2 separate regions of the Homo sapiens genome follow, and region 1 is linked to region 2. The links are contacts of gene promoters, found by promoter capture Hi-C in blood cells and fetal thymus (Javierre and others, 2016). All regions are on one chromosome and are shown on one strand. The core of a region is centred on a gene start or on the middle of the fragment in contact, and the rest is flanking DNA. Distances in the headings are between cores, read along the strand shown.

The links. The method cuts DNA at HindIII sites, captures the fragments that hold promoters and counts their contacts. A CHiCAGO score of 5 or more calls a contact.
Region 1: a contact is called between a fragment that was not itself captured here and the fragment with the promoter of CDKL2 in region 2, in 1 of 17 cell types (total CD8 T cells). The highest score is 5.7, in total CD8 T cells.

What each region holds. Positions count from the first base shown.
Region 1 is chr4:77,056,891-77,059,590 of GRCh38, reverse strand. CCNI (cyclin I) reads left to right here. Exons shown (of 7, transcript NM_006835.3): 3 at 956-1,084. Among named protein-coding and RNA genes, the nearest start is that of CCNI, 18 kb to the left of the region's middle. The HindIII fragment of the contact is 2,250 bases long and covers 326-2,575 here.
Region 2 is chr4:75,629,171-75,631,967 of GRCh38, reverse strand. CDKL2 (cyclin dependent kinase like 2) reads left to right here and starts at 1,440. Exons shown (of 14, transcript NM_001330724.2): 1 at 1,440-1,926. The HindIII fragment of the contact is 1,829 bases long and covers 122-1,950 here.

The DNA.
Region 1 (2,700 bases), core at 201-2,700, 1.4 Mb before region 2:
CCAGGGGCAACAGATGAATTATACATTTAGAGATGATGAAAAAAAATATTGAACAGGAAATCAACCTGAAGTAAATGACTATTTTGAAAGCTTTCCACAAACACAAAACATTGTTGTTTTAATCTTCCTACATATTATTTGAGTATTCTCCTTACAGCTCTTTCAAACTGTTTGAAACTACAGTTTGAAAGAGCTGTAAGGAGAATACTGAATGTTCCCAAAATAAACAACCGGTTTTATTTTTTTAATGGCGACTCCAAAACTCAAGAGTAAAAGTTTTCTAATCACTATTACTTTAAAGTGTGTCCCTGCTAAAAATTAAGCTTATACTCAATAGGCTTACAACAACAATAAAACAATAATGTTTTGTGTTTGTGGAAATTTTTCAAAATAGTAATTTACTTCAGATTAATTTCCTGTTCAATATTTTTTCATCATCTCTAAGTGTATAATTCATCTGTTGTCCCTGGTATCTTTTACTTATTACTATTGATTTTAGTTTTTCAAATGGGCTATCATTTCCATTATCATAGTTCATTTATATTTCCTAAGATAAGTTAATGGCTACTTGCTGCGGGAGAAATTCACTGTATTTTCTTAATCTTAAGAGGTGGGGTAACTTAACTCCAAATTACTATCAGTTGATAATAGTGTTACTTAAACTTTAAAATGTTATATTCTCTGAGCACCTAAATTTAATTCAACTATGGATATTTGGTGAGATGACATAGTGAAAATTTTAATAAAGAGTAGGAGAATATTGGATATTGATATTAAATGTGATAATACATAAAGTTTTATTTCATGTGTCTCAAGTCTGATAGATTTTGAATAACCTTAACATTTTTAAATATATTTTGTAGTATTACCTAACCTTTTATGAGAGAGAATTCTAAACATACTCTTGATGATAGCTCAAACTTTGTCTTCTGTTTTCAAAATTGTTCCCTTATAGAATGTTTCTCCATCCCAGAGAGATGAAGTAATTCAATGGCTGGCCAAACTCAAGTACCAATTCAACCTTTACCCAGAAACATTTGCTCTGGCTAGCAGTCTTTTGGATAGGTTTTTAGCTACCGTAAAGGTAAGTGTTTTAAGATAGACTTACATATAACCTCATTTGAGTGTATGTATGCTAAACTAGAGGCTATTAGTGAACATTCTGTAAGGTAGAAAGAAGTGGAGAACTTTGCTGGAGAATGATGTATGTACCCATAAGAAGACATGGTGATGTCTTCTGCTATTGTTTATTTTATTTTTATTTTTTGATAGTTTTGCTCTGTTGCCCTGGCTGGAGTGTGTCTGCCTCCTGGGTTCAAGCAATTTTTGTGCCTCAGCCTCCCAAGTAGTTGGGACTGCAGACACGTGCCACCATGCCAGTCTAATTTTTGTATTTTTAGTAGAGACAGGGTTTTGCCGTGTTGGCCAGGCTGGTCTTGAACTCCCGACGTCAAGTCATCAGCCTGCCTTGGCCTCCCAAAGTGCTGGGATTACAGGCATGAGCCACCACTCCCGGCTTTCTACTATTGTTTAAAAAGCAGAAGTGTTTTTGGAAGTGTTTCTAATAGTATTCTGTAATTTTCTTTTTGTTACAAGTATTCATAACTTTTTAGCCTATGAAATTTTTTATCTCTTGATTTTAGCACAAACCGTATAGCATCAGCAGAATACTTAGTCATTTTCTAACATATTGGTGTACAGAGGTGGACAAGGAATCAGACTAGAATAAAGTATAAGCCTATTGCACGTTTTTCTCTGTCACTACTTATTGAATATCCATACTGTGTGGCTTTCTGAAAAACAAAGTGCTTTCTACGGGCTTACTTTGGTATATAACAAGATGTCATAAAGCAACTTTGGTATATTTTTGTTGAATGACAGCATACAAATAATTAGGTTTTATATTGTCCCCATTGCCATGTCATTGGCTGTGTCAAGTTAGTAAATAGGCCCTCAACATATTTAAAGCAGAAAATGAGCATTTATTTAATGGCAAGGCATGAAAAAGTAGCATAGTATTTAAACTTGTAGGCATTAGTATGCAAAAGAATATGTAAACTGGGGGAACTGTCAATTAAATGCTTTATTAGGTATACAGAATAGAAGCCAAATAATTACGGAGTGTAAGACTGAATAGCTGCTCAAACTTCTACTCTTAAGACACTTACTAAACATGACAGGACCCAATAAATAAGAAATATGAAAAAATGAGATATTTGGCAAAATTCTCTAATTGTTCCACAAATTTCTCCAACTTTGTTTCAAATGTTTAATAAACACAGCAAGAAACTCATGATAGAAACTACAACAATGTGTTCACTAATAATTTTTGAAAAATGTACTGTCCAAGAAAGGACACTAACTTTAAACTCATCTTTCTGTGGAATTATCTGTGAAAAGTAGGTTAGATGTAGTAGAGAGGGAGGGAGGAGTGATGTGGACTTGTTGCTGAGATAAAAGTAGGCATTTTTCAGATATCCCAGATTGCAAGCAATTAGCTTTAAAAAATGTTTACATACACAAAAAATTTTTTAATTTTGGGAATATTATTTATTAAAAACTTCTAAATCAAGCTTTTTTTCTGCTGGATAGAAATGAACTTTGGTTAATTGGCTTTGGTTGAACTTTGAGCAATGGAATTGATATTATTTTTGTAGAATATCATATGGCTAGGATTGTAATGCTAACAGTTAGCTCTCA
Region 2 (2,797 bases), core at 191-2,690:
ATATAAATAGATTATTGAAGCTTCTAGGCCTCTTGCATGAAGGGGCCTTAAAATGTTATACGGTTGAATATGATTATAAAGTTGCAAAAGTAAAATAGTTTTGCGCTCTTGTTCTTAAGCTTCAGGCCCAACAAAACTGAATCTACCCCCATATAAAAGAAGTTCATCAGATTCTCTTATAGCCTATAGAGGTACCAAATGGGACAGGGCTTCTCGCAACTTGGACACAGCTAAGGACAGAGCTAATTGCTACACTAAGAGTCACATCTTGAATTGACCAAATAATTCTATTCTTTCCATAACTAGGCCTCAGGTCTGGTTCTCAATATTACAGGTTCAGGAACTAGATTTTAAGCAGTCTGACCAAGGTAATTAACCACTGGGAGATTAATGCAAACTAACCAAACTCACAAAAGACTATAAAAAGAATGTCTATTTCTTAATGTACAAGAAGGAATCAATACCTTAACATTAATGATTAATACCTTAATATTGACTAGGGTATATGGTAGACATTTGTCTATCCAGGACACTCTATTCCCTAAATCAAAGTAGTTTCGAGACCAAAATGATCATGAACATTTAGTTATCATGATTGAAAGTGTTATTTTACTGGCCTTATGGCCTCCTCGCTGCCTCAGATTCTTTGAAAATGGGGTAAGCTCTGTTCCTGTGTGATTTAAGCCTGTGCATGATTCTGACCTACCAGTCTTGCTCAGTCGTGGATTGAGCTGCATTTTTGCATTTAAGGCAAGTTTTATCGCAAGCCCTAACTCCACCCCATTTGGCTGCCATACGCGGGTGTTGTGCGTGTCCTCCAGATCCCCAGCCATCCCAGCGCTTTCCCATTCCACTCATGCCCTCTCTTCCCCTTCCTCCATCTCAGTGTTTTCCCTCACTTTCAATGGCCAGACTGGCCTTCCCAAGGTCCCTCCTAACGTCAGGTCTGTCATCACCTACCTTCTTCCACCTTGCCTCGCCTACTAATCATCACCTCCTAAACTGTCACCGTTATCTCCTACCTGGCTCACACTGGCCCCACCGCCCAGAACAGAAAGGAAGCATGGAATCCCGGTCAGGCCGCGCCTACGCGACTCAGGGCGCCCGGCGCCCGCCCCTGCCCCAGCGGCGATGCTATGAGGGAAACCGTATCGCATTTTGCATAGTCTTCGCAGTCCTACATAACCGCCACCTTTACCCTTCGCGTGGGCATCACAATCGCCTCCTCCCGCTGGGGAAGGCAGAAAGGCGCCTCCTGACGAGAACCAAGGCGTGTGGGGACGCAGGGCCTCTGCGTGTCAGGGAGCAGAACCTGGGCCGAGCCCTAGGTGAAGGGGCGGGGTGGTTGGCCCTGAGCCAATCATGGCTCGTGACGACTCGGCTCGGCCAATCAGAAGAAGGGAGGCCTGGCGCTCTCGGGGCGGGTGAGAAACCGCCCCCCCTTGCAGCTCCGCGGCCAACGCCTTCGCCCAGGGGTAGTTGGAGCGGTGCAGGTTCCCAGGCTCCAGGTACTGGGCGCCTTACGAGCTGGGAGGTGGTGCCTCTCACCCAGCTAATTGCTCTCTAGCCCTTGGCCTTCACAGGTGTTGGTGCCTGCCGTGAACGCATTCTGACCTGGGCCGTATCTGTCTCCCAAGACTTTGTGCCTATGGTTGGGGACAGAGTGAGGTCGTTGCCTTGACGACGACAGCATGCGGCCCGTGGTCCTCCTAAGTGTGAGCTTGCGGCGGACCGAGGCCCACCTGCCTCCCTGCCTGCTTCGCCCTGGACTCGTGACTGCGTCCGCAGAAGAAATCACAACAGCGCTGGAATTGCTAGTTTGCTAGGCAGCATCTTTTGGACCTGCGAACCATATGCATTTCACCTCAAATTTGTTTCCAAGTTGAAAACCTTTGGGTCTTTCTATGCGAACGGATTGAAGAAACGGTAAGTATAGTACGTTTTAAAGCTTCTATTATCTCGTTCTTTGATCTATAAAAGATTTCAATCTTTTTTTTTTTTTTTTTTTTTTTTTTTTTTTTTTTTTTTTGAGACGGAGTTTCACTCTTGTTGCCCAGGCTGGAGTGCAATGGCATGGTCTCGGCTCACCGCAACCTCTGCCTCCTGGGTTCAAGCGATTATCCTGCCTCAGCCTCCCAAGTAGCTGGGATTACAGGCATCACCACCACGCCCGGCTAAGTTTGTATTTTTAGTAGAGACAGGGTTTCTCCATGTTGGTTAGGCTGGTCTCGAACTCGCAACCTCAGGTGATCCGCCCGCCTCGGCCTCCCAAAGTGTTGGGATTACAGGCGTGAGCCACCGCTCCCGGCCCTTTAATCTGTCTTAAACAAAATAAAAAATTAGCATTCTCCAAATATTTTTATCAAAATTGTTGCTTTTAGAACCATCCAGAAATAACACCTTGCCCATTGGCCAGGTTTCTTTTTCGTTTGTATTACCTTTCCGTTCAAGAGTAGAAGGCATGAGAAGTTATAGTTTATGAGTAACTGTTTCAGGAAACAGGAGGCTTTGTAGGCTGTGATACTTTTAAAGTATTTGTGGACAGTGTCACTTGAAAAAGCAGGTGTGTTCAATGTGGTGTGTCCAGATATGCAATTGGTTGGGAGAATAAACTTGAAGCAGTCAACTTGCATTAATGTTAGCTTGGGATATGCTTCAGAACACCTCAGACATGCTTAAAGTCATTTTTTTTGGTTCACTTTGTGCTTTCAAATATTGAGGACATCAATTACAAAATGTTTTAAAATAATCCAGGTTATAGATTCAAGCTATTTTTGTCATTGGTATGATAAACCTA